6 separate regions of the Homo sapiens genome follow, and regions 2, 3, 4, 5 and 6 are each linked to region 1. Evidence: promoter capture Hi-C in 16 types of primary human blood cells and fetal thymus (Javierre and others, 2016). All regions are on one chromosome and are shown on one strand. Each heading gives the region's core, a stretch centred on a gene start or on the middle of the fragment in contact. The rest is flanking DNA. Distances are from core to core; before and after follow the strand shown. Region 1 holds the start of IL1F10 (interleukin 1 family member 10). Region 2 holds the start of PAX8 (paired box 8). Region 3 overlaps PAX8 (paired box 8). Region 4 overlaps PAX8 (paired box 8). Region 5 overlaps PAX8 (paired box 8). Region 6 has its middle 11 kb from the start of IL37.

Region 1 (2,775 bases), core at 75-2,574:
GTCCTTGGCCCACAGCTTAGAGAGTCTGGTCTTCTTAATTATCTTTTCAAGTGTTTATGACTTAGTTCCTCAGCTAGACTGTGAAACTACTTAACAACAAGGACTGTGTATTGAATGTCTGTGTCACACAGCAGTGTAAATGCTGGGTAAACACTCATTGGTTGCCTGACATAGTAACTCATGCTTTAAGCCTTCCCATAGAAGGGTGAGAGATTGGGAGAGTGGAAGAAGAATGATCACTGGCCTTAGAAAGCAGAAATCTGGTCCCATTTCTGCCCATCTTTTCTCATTTCTCATCCTGCAGGCATCTGAGTCTTAGACCCACCTATCCCACTTCCTCAAGAAGCCCTTGGTGGAACTTTGCAAATGACCAAAGAGGGAGAATTATAATAAGGTTGTTAGTTTCCAGAGAACATTACACCTAAGCTTCTCCACGCTTGTAATGGAGGGATGGATGGATGGATGGATGGATGGATGGATGAATGGATGGATGAAAGGGTGGACAGAAGGGTGGATGGATGGGCACATGGGTGGATGGATGGTTGGATGGATGATGGATGGATGGAAGAATGGACAGATGGGTAGATAGATGGACAGATGGGTGGCCGGGTGGATGGATGGATGGATGGACTGAGTCAAGTAATGTCAATTAGAGACCTGAGTGTTCTTTCCTCTGTGCTCTACTCACACTATCATATTTCCTAGCAGTCCATGGCACATGATGTCTGCTCAGTCTCAGGGTGAATCTGAGGTCAATATCTTTGCAGTTGGGTTTCCCTAGATGTTCTGTCCCATCAAGCTGGTACCAACTAATTAAACCCACTGAAAAGCAGAGACTCCCTTCTCGTCTTTCCAAACAGAGTCACACTCACAGTGCTATCAGCCCCTTCTCTTATTCTGGCTGTCTGGCCACAGCCTGGATTCCGGCATCAGAATTTGTTCTGTCCTTGGGCTTGCCAGACATACTTTCTCTTGTATTCACCACCTCTTCAAGCCTAGGATGGAGCCCCACGGGGCACCAAAGATGTCTGACCCCAGCACTGTTTATCTGGCTGCAAACCCACTAATAACATAGTCAACGACAGTCAGTACAGAGCAGGGGCCCCATACCTTATTTCTGCCAAGGCTTTATGGATGACTCTCTCCCCCTTCAACAAATGCTCCTTAATGTTCCCACCATCTTATTATTCATGCTGTACCAAAGACATTGTGAAATGCCCAGGCTCTTCTTCCTTCATGTCCTGCAGCCAATTATAGAGATTGGTGCAGGCCTGACCCACCTGTACCAGACGGTATAAACACAGCGCAATGCCCTGGAGAAATCAGTTGGAGTCTCCAGGGATCAGGGTTCCAGGAACTCAGGATCTGCAGGTCAGTGATGGACAGGCAATATTCTCTCTCTCTTTTCTTTCTTTTCTACTCTCTCCTGTCAATATCTCTGGTATGCCCTCTATCCCTTCACTCCTCCTGGCAAGCTGTCTAGGTAACAAGGTAGTCCCCTCATATGACATGATGGGACATCAAAAACATTTAGGAGCACATAAAGAGATTTGAGGAGAAGGAATAGGTTAAGCCAAATCAAGATTTCTGAACTACTTAGAACAACTGACTTTAGAAAGTAATCTCAAAAGAAACCATCTGGGCCAATGGTATTCAAACCGTGTTTGGTGGAAGCTTAAGAGATTTTTTGTTTTCGTTTTTTTTTTTTTTGTGCTCCTTGGTAGCTCCTCAGTGTCTTCTTTGTAGGCAAGAGAAATACTAGCAGGGTTCCAAAGTCTCCATTGCTTCCTGTGTCAGCAAAGCAGCTGCCCTTTATCCTTTTTACAATCATTAGAATTCTGCATAAAATTTTATTGTGAAACTTAAAACAGTTTTGAAAGATACCTTACTCAATCTTTCCATCCAATGTTGATAAGTTGAAGGCCCAGGGATAAAAGGTGGCAAAATAAATTGGTAGCAGAGCTAGGTCTAGGACTCAGCCTTTCTATTCAAAGTCTGCTCTGTGTGTTTCTATGTCCTGGCCACAAGGACCAGGGTAGTTCAATTAGGGTGGTTGGAGAGAGCTTCAAGTGAGCTGTAAGCCATGCTTCATGACTTCAAGATCTTATAAACTTTTATAAGGGAAACAAATATCTTTATGTACAACAATAAATAATACAGTAAAATTTAATAGGAGTTCAGAGTAGAGTTACAATAGTAAGGGAAAGATTCATTAAACTCTGAGTCATGGAATTATAAATAGTTTGGCCTAGAAAGAACCTTCATAACCACATAATCTAATCCCATGAATGTATAGTGCTGAAACTGAGGGTTGGAGGTTAAAAGACATAACCCTGTATGTCTAAGCTGTAACTCTACACTGGTAATTAATTTGATAGAACTAGATACTGAACCCATCTATACTGATACTATCTCCAGTGATCTTAATATCAAAAGATCTGAATGGATGACAATGAGAAGGGATGACTTTTGAGGCAGGGAGAACAATGGGACACCTGTGAGTACGTCCACTGAGAAGATAAGAAAGGAATTATGTCGCCAGGAGGTGTGGTTTAGTGTCCATGGAGAAGTGAGATGCTATCACACAAGAAAATCAGTGCCAGACGGTGACAAAACAGTCAGTCACTGTAGATTCTAGAGCTGGGCAGGGATGTGGTGAAAAAAATCTTTAGAACGTGGGTCCACATTCCTCACATAGGTTGGAATGAATGAAAGGCAGAAAAACCGGGAATACAAGTACAGTAGTAATGGCAATTAAAAACACAAAGTTATATT
Region 2 (2,775 bases), core at 1-2,500, 210 kb after region 1:
GGCCGGGAAGGGGGAAAACAGGCATCGCGGCCTGGGAGCTCGAGTGTGTTTGAAGGCCCTGCTTCCGGGCGCAGGTGGGGAGGGGGTTTTGACTCCGCGAGCGGCTTAGTCCTCACCAGCCGGACGCCCCGCGCGCGGCGCCCGGCCTGCCCGGTGCTGGGCCAGGAGGAGTCGGAGAGCACCTGAGTGCGCTGCCGGCTCCCGGGCCCGGGACCACCGGCTCCATTGCCGTTGGCTTGAGAGATGCGGGGAGCTCACAGTCCAGCCAGGGGAGTCACTGGGAAGGACTGCGCGCACCCGAGGAAGAGGACTTAGAGGTCGGGGACGGGGAAACGGCAAGTCCAGCACCGGTGCAGCCCAGGGACAGAGCACGAAGAATGTCCACACTAATGCGCCATGCAAGGCTGGGAATGGAGCTCAAAGGAAACCCCCTCTAACTCCACAGAGATCCCCTCACCGATCCATGTGGTCCCTCGAAACCGGGCAAGGGCGGCTCAGCTGGCCGGGTGGAACCCCAGTGCCCGAGAACAGCGAGGCGGCTCCAGCGGAGGGCCAGGCCCCAGGCGCCCCAGCTGGGTCCCCACGCGGGTGGGTCCCGCGAATCCCGTGCTGACGCTCTCGAGATCCAACCACCCGAGCGCACGCACGGACGCTCAGCGGCGCGGGGGCTCGGGGATCCTGACCACACCGCGTTCTTACCAGATCTGATGGAGTTGTGAGGCATCGCCGGGGAGTCGCTCGCAGCCCGCCGAGGGCTCGGGGCTTCCTCCCGTAGGTCCGGGCCGCGCCTGCCGCTGCCCTGCACAAACCCAGGAGAAGGGCATGAGATGCGATGAGATTCGATGCCTGCATCCTCAGGCCCCCTCCCCAGGCCTCATCCTTTACACCTGCATCGTCTGCCAGGAGTAGGAGGATTTTTAGGCGAAGTAGGGCCAACCTCAGCCTAGCCTAGCTAACAGGCTTCCCGGGAGGATCAAGGATTGGGAGTGCGCTGAAGAAGCTCCAGACTCCAACCTCCGTGCCCACTCCCTCCGCTGTCCCAGTCTTATCCCGTTTAACTTGGGAGGGAAAAGGCTGCCAGGCATCCTGGGACCCTCTCCTTTCTTCCATCCCCCGTCCTCACTGCTAGCCAGCTTCCAGCTAACCCCTGGGTGACATACCTGGCCGGCCGGCTGCAGGCCCTCACTGCTTGGGTCCGCCCGCGAGGGTGCCCTGGGCCCGGTGTCTCTCCTCCTTCTGAAGTTTGTTCCCATCCACCCGGCATCACCGACCGGTTTTATCCCGCTGAGGCCCTGGGAGATGGGTCTGGCGAGGCTCGTAGGCCGCGGATTGGCTGGCTGGGTGCAGGGGGGTGCGGGAAGGGGAGGATTTTGCAAGGGGGACATGGCTGAGTGGACTCAGGAGTTAGAAACATTCGCTGGGAGCTTCTGTTTCCAGCGGAGGGAAGAGGGAGGCAGCTGAGCCCTAACTCAGCAGGCCTGGAAATATTGGAGGAGTGGGGAACAGAGGCCTAGGAGCCTGAGGATGAGGTTCTCTGGGTCCTCCTGGGTCACTGACCACCAGAAGTGAGAGGGATGGTCTCTGTAGGATGCCCTCCTTGCCCCCTGTCTCCCCTGGTTTGCTCACCAGGAAGCAGCCTTTTCTTTTGTAAAAGGAAGGAGGGAACTTCTGTTTTATGCCTGATTCTTTAGGTAGAGCCTGCTTTCGGGGCTGTAGGCAAGATGCTATTACCTTCTCACCACAGCTATGACCTCTTCCAGGGAAGAATCCTGAGCAGCACCTGAAGCCATTCCCTCTGTTCTACACAGATAGCGTTCACACCCTTGCATTGTCAGGCTAACAAAATTGTCACATAACCCATTCCACAGCAACTCCTCGCCTCTCTCCTCTGGAACACACACGCAGCCACCTGCCCTCTTTCTTGCTCCTTGAGGATTTTGAACTTGGAAGAAGAGTTCAGGGGAAGGGCATTGAGGGCCTAGACTTCATCTCTGTGTGGAAAGGCCTTAGAAAGGAACAGGACTGAGCTGACCTCTGGCCTGGTCTGTAGGAATCAATAGCCTCAGCAATATGGGGGCCTGGGTGTGGTTAAGAAGGGGTCCACTGGTGGGAATGATGGCAGGGTTGGTGAGCCCTGGGACCGAGCAGAGCTGCCTGGCACCTCTTTACCTTAGTGATGGCAAAAGCTGCCCCCTCCTTCCTCATAGTTCTCTCAGTCGGGGAACCGGGGTACACGTAAGATTGTGAGTGGGTATGAGTGAGCAAATGTCCTGGAACACTGGCAGGCCTGGGGGTCAAGGCCTGGATGCTCCTCCAATCTTTGGCCAGACCTCTGGACTCAGGATTACAGTCTAGAGGACAGCCATGCCCTTTTCAGTGATGGCTCTGCAGGCCTGGTGGGGTTGTTCTGGGACAGGAGGCTAAGAAGCCAGTGGGAGGGGGGCAAGGAAGGTGCAGGGGAAACTGGGATATTCAGGGGGATTGGATGTGTGTGTGTGTGTGTGTGTGTGTGTGTGTATGCACATATGTACACGTGTGTGAAAACACATGAACTATTTTTCTGAATTAAAAAAGTTTTCTCTTTCATGTCAATCCACAACCTCCTTCCACCCAGTCTTTCTCATTTCTCAATTTAGGAGAAATGAATCATCTTGTGAAAAAAGAGAGAAGAAGATGTGTATCCCTACATGTTTCCTCCACATTTGCAAAGAGGGGCTGTAAACAAAAATAGTTGGTGCTTCATCATTTTAAATCTTTCTCTAAAATTGTAATTTT
Region 3 (2,775 bases), core at 79-2,578, 180 kb after region 1:
AAGCTTGCTGTCCAGAAACATATCCTTTTGAAAAGTGACCATTCAGGGAGGTCTTAGGACTTTGTTGGTAATTTCTTCATCCTTTATAGAGCTCTGAGTAGTTGGGATGGCAGAAAGAAAACAGAGACACTTATTGACCAAAATTCTTGTTATATGCACCAATATCCAAACCCTTAAGATGTGGAAATCCTTTCTCCATGTTCCTATAGTCCTTTGCACAAATTCCTATCATAGCACTGACTGCATTGAACAGTAACTTTCTCTATTTGAGTTTCTTTATGAGTTACTCAAAGGCAGGGGCCCTGTCTTTGTCTACTGTAATTAGTGTTTTCTTATATACAAGTGATAGAAAAATGGTTTACATTGGTTATGGTTGTTGCATGGATTCCCATGATTCTGCATGGTGGGACCCCCAAATCCCATGCTTCAGTACTTTCCTCTTTATCCTTTTGCTTTATCTTTTGCGGCTCTGCCCAGTCCTAAAGTGGCAATGGCTCAATGTGGTGTTCTGCAAAAATTTCCACTTAACTATCTGGGGCTTTTTGCTTTAGTCCCATAGAGTGTCAAGGTGATAGCTGAGCCTTGGCAGGGCTATAGTGAGAGGTGCAGTGGCCTCTTTGGGTGCCTTTCAAATCATGCCAGGCCTATACGCCTTCCACAAAGGAAAGGCCTTGTCCATGCGAATCAGTCCCTGGCATTCTCAGCTTGGTGTTGTTGCCTTCCCCAGCTGCTCACTTGCAGGTCTGTGATCTCCATGTGCCACCTCCCAGCTAATCCTCTTGGCTTGGTGCCTTTCTGGAGTAAAGGCCAGGGTCTGTGCCTCCAACTGCTCCTGAAGAAAGTGTCCCAGGGCCATGGAATCCCAGTGTCCAAAGTCTGCACACTGGATCATGCCAGCACACATGAGGTTATGGGTTACCTGGACACATGAGACCCTTGGACTGGGTAAAAGAGGCTGGCATGCTGGAAAGCAGCATCCTGCATCTGCTGTTACCCCCAACTTGCTGCATGACCCTTGGTTACCTCTGTGCCTTACACTTGTCTTCCTAAGGGAAACTGTAGCCGAAAGACAGCAGCTAGGCAAAGCTGCGGCTTGTGTTTCTCATTGATCTCTTGCCCTTCTACCTGTGCTGGAATCCTACTCCGTCAATTATCCTCCCATTTAAAAACATTACTTACCTCTTCTTTTATACCAGGTCCTTCCCCTAAACGTACAAATGGAATTAAATTAATCTATGTTGCCTCTCCACCCCCTGACCTCAAAATACATTAAACAAAAAAAATTCTTCCCTTGACCATGATACTCTTCTTTCCTATTGTTTTCAACTAAATTTCTCAAAAAGCAGCTATACTTGCAGCCCATTCCTCCCTTCACATTCGGTGCTCAGCCTGCTCTGTGCCTCCTGCTTAGCATGTGCTTGGTGATGAGTGGCCATGGATGGACAGTGAGTGGTTGGAGGGTGCCATGTTCTCCCTCTTGAAGAGATTTTAGTGACAATCCCATCTCCTGATTCCTTATACCTTCAGTCTAGGCTTTTTGCTTTGCTTTAATGGGGTTCTGTTCCCTTATTTGCTCCATGACATATGTTTTCTCCCTTCAGGCTTCTCTTAGTTCTCAGTGTTTCTCTCCCCCTTCAAGGCCATCCTTGGTGATCCTACACACCCTTATTGTCATACCTACTACCCATCTCATGATGGCATCATGGGCATCCCAGGTAACCCCAGTCAGGTCCTTCCCCCAACTTTTGTTTTCAATTTCTATTGGAGATTTCCTCTTAGGTGATAAGGGGGCTCCTCCTCTAGTGTTGTCTTGGTTGGTAACAATACCAGCTGTCATGCAAGCTCAGGGCCTGCCCCTTCCACTCAACCTCCTGCCACCTGCCACCACACTCTCTGCACCGCACTGTCATCGGTCTTCTGCACAACCTTGGAAGTAACAGTGTGTCCCCAGCCTTGGGGCACTTGCACATGCTGTTCCCTCCTCCTGGAGCTCTTGTCTCCCTGTCGTATCTAGTTAACTCCTGCTCATCCTTTATATTTCAGCACTGAGTCACTTCCTCGGTGGCTTTGCTTTATCCTGCAGAGTAGGTTCAGGCTTCTGTTTGGGTGTTCTAATAACATGCTTTACCTTTCTTGAATGGCTGTCATAGAAAGGTAGCATCAAATATAACTGCTGTTTGGAATCTGGTTGAAAGTGAGGGGAAGAAAAAGTCTCATAGTCAAGGGAGGAATTTTGGGGGGACTGGGGAGGTATCATAGATAAATTTAATTGCATCTTTAGGTCCAAATTTTAATTTTACATTTTTTGCATAACTATATATGTATGAATCATAACTGTCTTCTATCACCAGATAGAAAGCTCCATGAGGGGAAGACTTCTTTCGTTTTGATCATTATTAAATTATATTAGGTGTTCAGTAAACATGTCACATGAATCAACTAATAGCCTTTATCTTTTTCCATTCTCTGCATATGGAATACTCACAAGACCACGTTTTACCTCCTAAATATTTACCTAACCAATACCTTCCTGTCTGTCCCCAGCATTCAAATATTCCTGCATTCATTTATCCATTCTACATGTATTTTATATGCCTACCATGTGGCAAACATTTTAATAGAACTGATTACATAGAATTGATTTCTACCTTCATGAAGCTTTCAGGCTAGGGATAGGTAGGCTGGGGATGGGTATATATTTAAAAAGTAAATACAGAAATAAATGTGTAATTACTACTTGGAATAAGTGCTAAGAAGAACACAACAGGGTGTAAT
Region 4 (2,775 bases), core at 101-2,600, 160 kb after region 1:
ATCTTATAAATGGAATTCATCAGTCTCACTCCCCTGTACTCTACGATTTTTAATCTTCATCTCCCCTCAGTCACCTAATGTCTTCCCAATGGGGTAGAGGCTTCTGAATCGGACATCAGAACAGACGCCTGAGGCTTCCTGCCATGAAAGCTGGTCTTCCTGGAAAGACTGGTAAGACTTTCTTCAGCATGGCTCTCACCCAGACTATGGCACAATAAACTCTCCCAACAGCCCTACAAAACTCTTTGCTCCAATTGCTTAAATGCATAGTTTCTTCCAAAAAGCCAAGAAGCTTGCAAGCCTTCTTAGAAACAAAACCACAGAAGCTGTGGGGTGGAAACTCCATCACGGCCTAACCATGCCCTCTTACCTACTTCTCTGTTTTTAAGACTCTTCATCATAAAACGATCCTCGCTATGAATTCCATCTCCTCTACACCCAAATTTCTTTCCAACGTGGTCCTATTTTAGGAAGTTGACAGAAAGCATAGGCCCATGTTGACTGGCCGTGGAGTTCTCTAAGAAAACTCTAGCTCCCCCTACACCTTGAAATATTGGTAAATATTCTAAATATTGGTAGAGGCCAGAATCATAAAGCTATTGCCTGGAGGAATTCAGAGGGTAGAGGTGATTTCAGACTATTTTATTTTCCCCCTTTGAAGTCTGCCCTCCATGTAACCCCTTTTCAATTCCTTATCTCGTTCTGATAGCAAGGAGAATTTATGGCAACTCAGAAATCTCTTTGGCAGAACTAAATATAATTTTGTACAAAAGGATGGAGGAGGGGAATGGACTCTTTGATGATAAAACCTAACTCATGGCTTTCCTTTGAGCTGAGCTGGAGGCAGTCCCAGAGCAGCTGGGACCAGGACGGCCTCGACATTGCTGTCTTGGCCAGTGTGTTGGGACTCCAGACTGGGGCTTCCAAAGGGAACTGGCAGCAATGTTAGGGGCACTCTTGCTATTCCCCAAACCTTGCTGTTTCTTCTTTCTTGGCTGACTGGGGATGAGCTGAGACTCAGAAGGATAGTCACCTTGGAAATCACACTATCAGAGCCACCAGGCGGAAATAAGTGACCCAGAGAAAAACGCTATGAAGTAGTGAAGGAGTTGCAGGAGGCGGCAGCGAGGGTCCTTGGGAGTCACTCAGAGGCATGTGGAAGATTCACGCGGGTTAAAGCTGAGCTGATTATGGAATGAAAACTCACTGTGTCCTCTCTCCTCTCTCCTGGTCTGCAGCATTACTTAGGAATAATGTGGCCTCAACTTCCTTCTCTTTCTTTATTATTTTTTTCTTTTTTGAGATGGAGTTTCGCTCTTGTTGCCCAGGCTGGAGTGCAATGGCACGATCTCGGCTCACCGCAACCTCCGCCTCCTGGGTTTAAGCAATTCTCCTGCCTCAGCCTCCCGAGTAGCTGGGATTACAGGCATGTGCCACCACGCCTGGCTAATTTTGTATTTTTAGTAGAGATGGGGTTTCTCCATGTTGGTCAGGCTGGTCTCGAACTCCCGACCTCAGGTGATCCACCCACCTTGGCCTCCCAAAGTGCTGGGATTACAGGTGTGAGCCATTGGGCCCAGGTTCCTTCTCTTTCTTTCAAATTCACCTCTTCTTGGGAAGGTCTGCAGCCTCCTGCGCTCCTGGAACCATTCCCTTCCTAACCTTCCCCACCGCCCCCCGTCATGTCCTCCCAGCTCTCTCACCATGGCTCAGCCACGTGTTAGGTATTGAGATCCAGTCTTGACCAGAGGCCTCAGGTGGACAGTCTGTAAGGAGCTCCAGGCCAACACCCTGAGCTCAGCATGGACACCAGCCATCCCCTCCCTTGTGCCTGAGCTGCTTTCTGACTTGCTTCCTACTCTTGGCCATTTGCCTGGACCCCAGATCCTCCAAGGCTAGCACTCCTCACTCTTTTCAGAGCCTCTGCCTCTGTGCTGAATTGTCAACCCTTGGGCTAGGGGGCCCTGTGACCAGCCAGCAACCTTCAAAGTGCTCACACCTGCACTTCAGCATCATCTGGGCCTGGATTGGGGGCCACCAGCCTGAAAGATATGCCGGTGCTGCATATTTGGCTGCCTGCTTCCTACATGACTACCTGGTGTCTGCTGCCAGCTGTTTTGTCCCATGGGTTGGGTGACCTCTCAGTCCTGCAGTTGGCCTGGAGAGTGGGCATGTCCACTAAATTAACAGCTGACAGTAGTTGGAGGCGTCACCTCTGATTGACTGCATGTTGACAGGGGATGCTAACAGGATGACAGGGAGGGGACAAAGTGTAGGGGCTTTGGGAGTAGGGAGTTTGCCCTGGGCTGTTCCAGTTGCACTTTACACTACAGCCTATGTCTGCACTCTGATACATCTATCCACTTCCAGCTGCCCTACATCCTTCCCTCTCCTTCAGCTGGTCTTGCCAAGCTTCTCCGCGGCTTCCACAGCACCTGCTCCCCATCATCATGGGCACCACCACACCCTCACCCCTTGCCTGCCCCATGACCGCCGCCAGCTCTAGCCTGCCATTCTCAGAAGACATGCAGGCTTGCGTAACTCCCTGTAACTGACATGAACCTCTTCTCCTCACCCCCTCCCCTCCCCTCCCCTCCCCTCCCTTCCCTTCCCCTCCCTTCCTCTCCACTATCCTCTCATTCCCCTCCCTACCCCGCATCCCATTTTCTCTGGCTGACATAATTTTACTCAGCTCACAGGTTTTGCTCTTTTCATCACTTTGGTCAAAACAAATGACCCATCTCTGCTGCCTTCACCCTCTTGAATTCTTGAACT
Region 5 (2,775 bases), core at 276-2,775, 150 kb after region 1:
TGATGGGGAGAGGGAGAAGGGGAGAGGGTGATGGGGAGAAGGTGATAGTGAGAGGGCACTGGAGAGAGGGAGGAAGGATGCTTCCTGGCATTTCCTGAGGAGGTCAGGGACTCCGAGCTCTCCCCAAACATTCCCTGTCTCTTTCCCTCATTCATAGCCCTGGAGACACGAATGTCTCTCAAACAGTCGGGAAAGGAATAATTGCTGTAGACTCAGTAGAAAAGGAAAAAAACTAGAAAACTAGAAGAAGTGAACAAAGGAAGGAGATAGAGGTGAGAGAGAGGGAGTTTCTTCCATGAGAACCATAGCCATGGCGGCTCGGTCACTTGGCGTCAGAAGGTAGCACAGCAGCCTGGGGCAGAGGAGCCACCAGCTCCTTTATGGAACATGGAAGGCTTTATGACCTTAAAGGTTAGAGAGGGGCTGCCAAAGGGCACCCTGAAGGGAGATTTAGGGCCAAGGATGGAGGGAAGTCTGAGATCAGCCTGGCACAAATCTGCCTGGTCCCAGTGCTTCTTCAGTTGAGCTCTGGGCCTTGCGTCCAGTCACGCTTTGCAGGGAGGGGCAGCAGAAGTCACTGTGCCCCAACTGGCCAAGTGACTTCTGCCGCCCCTCCCTGCAAAGCAAAGAGTGTCTGACATCTCTCAGAAGCCTGGCCATATCCAGATATCTGAGGCCTGACAATAGGATGCAGACTAGGCCTTGGATTAGGGGTAAGGCTGTGGTCCCTGCTCCTCTGCTGACTCGCTGAATGACCTTGAAAAAGTCAAGTTATCTCTTGGTCTCAGATTCCCCAAGTGCAAAATAAAAGGGGGCCAATATTCAGAATCAGAGATGTAAATGGATGTGAATGGGCTTTGTATGGAAAAAGAAACTAAGCCTGTGGAGAGGGTTATTACCACTTCTGAGGCTGAGGCAGGACAGAGATGCTGTTAAGCTGTGGGTGCAGGAGCTGCCTAGGAGGGAGCTCAATCCCTCCCTCCCCGCGGCCTCCCTCAGTCCTGATTGACAGGACTGATGCTGACGCCCAGGCCCAGTAGTAATGGCGTTGAGGTCTGCAGTCCCCTTCCTCTGGTGCCCACCCCCAGAGGACAAGGAAGTGTGAATTATCTTAAAGAAGGCTCATGGGTTTTTGTTTTGTTTTTGTTTTTTTTTGAGATAGAGTTTTGCTCTGTCACCCAGGCTAGAGTGCAGTGGTGCGATCTCAGCTCACTGCAACCTCCGTCTCCAGGGTTCAAGTGATTCTCCTGCCTCAGCCTCTTGAGTAGCTGGGATTACAGGCATGCGCCAACATGCCTGGCTAATTTTTGTGTTTTTAGTAGAGACGGGGTTTCACCATGTTGGCCAGGCTGGTCTCAAACTCCTGACCTCATGATCCACCCGCCTCAGCCTCCCAAAGTGCTAGGATTACAGGCGTGAGCCACAGTGCCTGGCCAGGAAGCCTCATGTTGGTATGGATGGGAAAGGTGTGTGTATTTTGGGTGGTGGAAGTGGGAGGATGGTGAGGGCAGGTGGGAGAGGGGAGATCTTAGCAACAGCCTCAACCTGTCTGTCTTTCTGTTTCTATTTGGAGGCTCCTGCTTCCACTTCCAGTAGGTTTCACTAACTCCTCTTGCCTGAAGTTGTCACCAGGGTTGAGTGTGTGTTTTTGAGTGTGTGTTTGGCACACAGAGGGCAGAAGATACATGTTTCTTAGTCTCACAACTCATGGCAAGGATATTGGAGAAGTAAGAGATGATGTGACAAGGGGAGGGGTTGGAACTAGCCTGGGGGCTGGCTTTGTAGGTGAGGACTCCCAGTTCCGCTGTCTCTAGTCCTGGAACTTTGTGGTAGAGGTTACGGGGTCACAGCAATTCTGTTCATCTGGTGGGCCCCAGGCAGGGTTCCAGCTGCCCCCTTTCCCAGCAAGAAACCCACTGACCTGCCAGAGTTGGTTGGTCCACATGAATTTCCTGCAAGCTCCTAGCACCCTGGGCTGGCCTGGCCTGTGCTAGAACCTGAGGATGAAGAGGAGTGAGGGTAATGGACCAGGGAGAAGTTAAGAGTAAACTGCCTGGGAAGCTCAGGTGGTCTCTCTACATGAGCAGTGAAAGGGATTATTCCAGGGGGAAGGGATAGGCCCTCAGTGCTCTCAATGCCTCAGCAATGTTTTGGGCCCATCCTCATCCCCAATTCTCCTACAAACACACATACCACCCCCAGAGAACCCCTGGCTCCCCTGCACCATAAAGCGACCCCCCTTCACCTGCGACCACTCACAGAAGCCGCCCTCCCTACCCCAGGTGAAAGTGGCCCCTCGGCCAACCCTCAAAGCCCCCTGCGTGTCCTCCCTGTCCTTGCCATCCCACCTTTCTTCATTGCGTCCCCCCATGTGCCAGCCTGACTCCTCCCAACACCACCCCAAATGCCGGGGCACGTCGAATTGTCTTTCTTTCGCCCGATACATAAATGGCCTTATTTTCTGAGCCCGAAAAGGGGACCCATGGTTTGACCATGGGCAGAATATTGGATGGGTACTAGCCAAGGCCTGTTACATGGGGAACACATCCCACAGTCAACAAACACCCGCTCTGAGCAGAGGCTCCTGGCAAGCCCAGCTCACCTCCGGGAAAGAAAGGCGAGTTTTAAACCATGGTCACCTTAGTCAAAGCACAGCCCAAGCCCCTTTATTGGTTGTGAGTTGGAAAGGGTCTGCCGGGGGTACAGAGTGTCCCCAGAGGGGCTGTGGCTGTGAATGCAAGGGATCGCTCTATGGGCTCCTTGGGATGCTGTGCT
Region 6 (2,775 bases), core at 110-2,609, 150 kb before region 1:
ATAGTATATTTAGTAGATGTTTCCCACACAGAGAAATGGTAAATATTCAAGGCGAGGAATACTCCAAACATCCTACCTTGATCATTACACATTCCGTGCATGTAATGAGTACTTGCATGTATGCCATAAATATGTGAAATATTATGTATCACTATATAAAAGAAAAAAAAATGTGGCCAGGTGACATCCATATTTTGGAGAGGAAGGCATGTCTTCTTCATAATATCACAAAACTATTTTCACAACAAAGACACAGCTGTTCAAATTAGTCTCTGAGCCGGGGCTGTCTCATGGCAGTGAGGACTCTGGTTCCCTTACAGACTAGCAGAAAGGAGATGGGGCTTACTGACCATGGCCTTGAGGAGGCCGAACATGCAGGCCAAATGGAGACACAGACAGCCTGGGCTTGGTCCTGCTCCATCCCCTTCCAACCTGATGAGATATAGTGAGTCACTATGACATGGGTCACTCATGCTTCCTGTGAGGCTCCACCAAGACAGCAAGTGCATCAACACCTTACGGAAGCACAAGGCCCTGTTTGTTGTTGACTTCATGAAAGGCATGGTTGTGGTGATCGCATTGAGTAGGCTTTTGGGTGAGAGGTGAAAAACCCCAACTATCATGCATTGCAGCCCTCTGGTGGAAACTGTGCTTCAGGCTCTAAATTTCAGGCTCTAGACTGACTCCGGGATGAGTATTTGGAAGCTGAAGTCAATCTGTGGTCTCTTCTCCTGTAGAGCAGGAGTCAGCACTTTTCATAGAGTGCCAGATTCTATATATCCTGCCACATGCTCTGTTGTTACAGAACAAAGAAGGCCATAGACAGCATGGCTGTGTTGGCAAATACACAAAACAGGCAATAAGCTGTATTTGGCCTTTAGGCTGCAGTTTGCCAACCCCTGCACTAACACAGAGCTTAAAGGTGGTGGTGGTGTGCTGGAGCTAGCTTATATCAGCTTGCAATAGCCAATTGCTAACATCTCTTCCAAACTCTGTGTCTGTGCCTTGATGTTGATAGTTTGAAATTGGCTACCCCATTTAATGCTGCAATCTTTTCTCACCCCAGCACTACTGACTCCCCTTTGCCCTGTCTTATTTTTCTCACTCTAACATGCTGTATAGTTTTCTTCTTACATTTATTGTTTGTGTCTTCCACTAGCATGTATGTCCCACAAGTTCTTTGCTCTGTGATGTATCCCAAGAACCCACTGCAGTGCTTGGCACTTGTAGGAACTCCATAAGATTTTTATAAATGAAGAAAGGAAGAAAAAAGAGAGGGAGGGAGAAAGGAAAGGAAGCCTTCTATTTAAATGATGGCCTTCTCCATATTTCTATAGTAATATGACTTCCCTTGCAAAGGAGATGCATTTTGGAAAATGTGTATAAATAAACTCAGGTGGTTTTGAATTTCATTTTCCTAACTGTAATTGTAATCATTGGTCTTTATGTTTAGTGAAAAAGTTTTGGCCCTTATGCCTCACACCTGAGAATCCCAAAGTATTGGTTTGTTAGAGCTCCCATAGAGAACCATAAACTGGGTGGCTTAAAACAACAGAAATGTATCGTCTCCTGGTTCAGGAGGCCAAAGTCTGAACTCCAGGTGTTGGTTCATTCTGAGAGCTCTGAGAGAGAATCTGTTCCAGGCCTCCCTTCAGTTTGTGGTAGCTCCAGGGTTCCTTGGCTGGTGGCAGCAAAACTCCAGTCTCTGCCCCCATCTTCACATGACTGTCTTCTCTCTGTGTTTCTGTGTCCAGATTGTCCTATAAGGACAGAGTCATACTGAATTAGGGCTCACTCGAATGACTTCATCTTAAGTTGAACTGTATCTGTAAAGACCTTATTTCCAAGTAAGGTCACATTCACAGCTACTGGGGGATAGGACCTCAACATATCTTTTTGGGGGACATAATTCAACTCATAATACCCAACATGATAACTGTTCATCCCATGAAATTTAATGTCTCTCAAAAGGTGATCTCAGGGCATTTAATCTGTGACAGAAACTCCCATAGGAAACATTCCAACCAGAAGCTCCTTTCACAGCTGGTCACTCCTCCTACCCCATCCGAGGTCCTGGGGCAGGGTGAGGCAGGTGGGGACAAGAAGAAGGCTGTCTCGGGTGTAGAAAGAGAAGACCCTTATTCACCCGGCACTCTGTTCATGAATGAGCTATCCAGCATAGGATATAATAAATCGCTTTAGGAGTGGTAGACTCCAAACATTTTTTTGGTCCCAGTTATCCTAATCAATTAAACAAACTCTAGAACACATCTTGAAGTGCAGGCATTGGGACATTATGAAACTTACACAGAATTCAAAAATTTACAAGGGCTAAATAAAACAGGGTCTGACATCTAATATTTTCTTCCCACATTCCCATGCACTGTCTGGCTCAACCATCCCCAACCCTCACTCTCATCCTGGTGGACACATGCCTAGTGATGTGATCAGCTGGTTCACAGGGGGCTGGTGATGGTGGATATACAGCTTTTGCCAATTTCCATGGCATAACTACTCCAAATATGGCCAATTTCAAACTACCAACATGAAGGCACAGACACAGAGTTTGGAAGAGATGTTAGCAATTGGCTATTGCAAGCTGATATAAGCTAGCTCCAGCACAGCACCACCGCTACCTTTAAGCTCCTTGTGTTAGTGCAAGGGTTGGCAAACTGCAGCCTAAAGGCCAAATACAGCTTATTGCCTGTTTTGTGTATTTGCCAACACAGCCATGCTGTCTATGGCCTTCTTTGTTCTGTAACAACAGAGCATGTG

Evidence for each region. Contacts are between HindIII fragments. The CHiCAGO score rates a contact against its expected background, and 5 or more counts as called.
Region 2: the fragment with the promoter of PAX8 here is called in contact with the fragment with the promoter of IL1F10 in region 1 in 3 of 17 cell types (M1 macrophages, erythroblasts and M2 macrophages); the score reaches 7.0 in M1 macrophages.
Region 3: a contact is called between a fragment that was not itself captured here and the fragment with the promoter of IL1F10 in region 1, in 2 of 17 cell types (M1 macrophages and erythroblasts). The highest score is 6.4, in M1 macrophages.
Region 4: a fragment that was not itself captured here is called in contact with the fragment with the promoter of IL1F10 in region 1 in 2 of 17 cell types (neutrophils and M1 macrophages); the score reaches 5.8 in neutrophils.
Region 5: a fragment that was not itself captured here is called in contact with the fragment with the promoter of IL1F10 in region 1 in 6 of 17 cell types (erythroblasts, M1 macrophages, M2 macrophages and 3 more); the score reaches 6.7 in erythroblasts.
Region 6: a fragment that was not itself captured here is called in contact with the fragment with the promoter of IL1F10 in region 1 in 2 of 17 cell types (M2 macrophages and M1 macrophages); the score reaches 7.1 in M2 macrophages.

What each region holds. Positions count from the first base shown.
Region 1 is chr2:113,066,646-113,069,420 of GRCh38, forward strand. IL1F10 (interleukin 1 family member 10) reads left to right here and starts at 1,325. Exons shown (of 5, transcript NM_173161.3): 1 at 1,325-1,371. The HindIII fragment of the contact is 1,248 bases long and covers 425-1,672 here.
Region 2 is chr2:113,277,671-113,280,445 of GRCh38, forward strand. It overlaps PAX8 (paired box 8), which reads right to left and starts at 1,251. Exons shown (of 12, transcript NM_003466.4): 1 at 1,161-1,251; 2 at 700-799. The coding sequence starts at 724. RefSeq lists a promoter at 724-1,853. The HindIII fragment of the contact is 9,772 bases long and covers 1-2,775 here.
Region 3 is chr2:113,251,619-113,254,393 of GRCh38, forward strand. The region is part of intron 2 of PAX8 (paired box 8); the gene reads right to left. The region is part of intron 2 of PAX8-AS1 (PAX8 antisense RNA 1); the gene reads left to right. Among named protein-coding and RNA genes, the nearest start is that of PAX8-AS1, 17 kb to the left of the region's middle. The HindIII fragment of the contact is 2,655 bases long and covers 2-2,656 here.
Region 4 is chr2:113,230,446-113,233,220 of GRCh38, forward strand. All of the region lies in intron 9 of PAX8 (paired box 8), which reads right to left. Among named protein-coding and RNA genes, the nearest start is that of PAX8-AS1, 4.4 kb to the right of the region's middle. The HindIII fragment of the contact is 2,120 bases long and covers 291-2,410 here.
Region 5 is chr2:113,213,362-113,216,136 of GRCh38, forward strand. PAX8 (paired box 8) reads right to left here. Exons shown (of 12, transcript NM_003466.4): 12 at 2,636-2,775. Among named protein-coding and RNA genes, the nearest start is that of PAX8-AS1, 22 kb to the right of the region's middle. The HindIII fragment of the contact is 5,230 bases long and covers 1-2,775 here.
Region 6 is chr2:112,920,592-112,923,366 of GRCh38, forward strand. No RefSeq gene overlaps it. Among named protein-coding and RNA genes, the nearest start is that of IL37, 11 kb to the left of the region's middle. The HindIII fragment of the contact is 6,002 bases long and covers 1-2,775 here.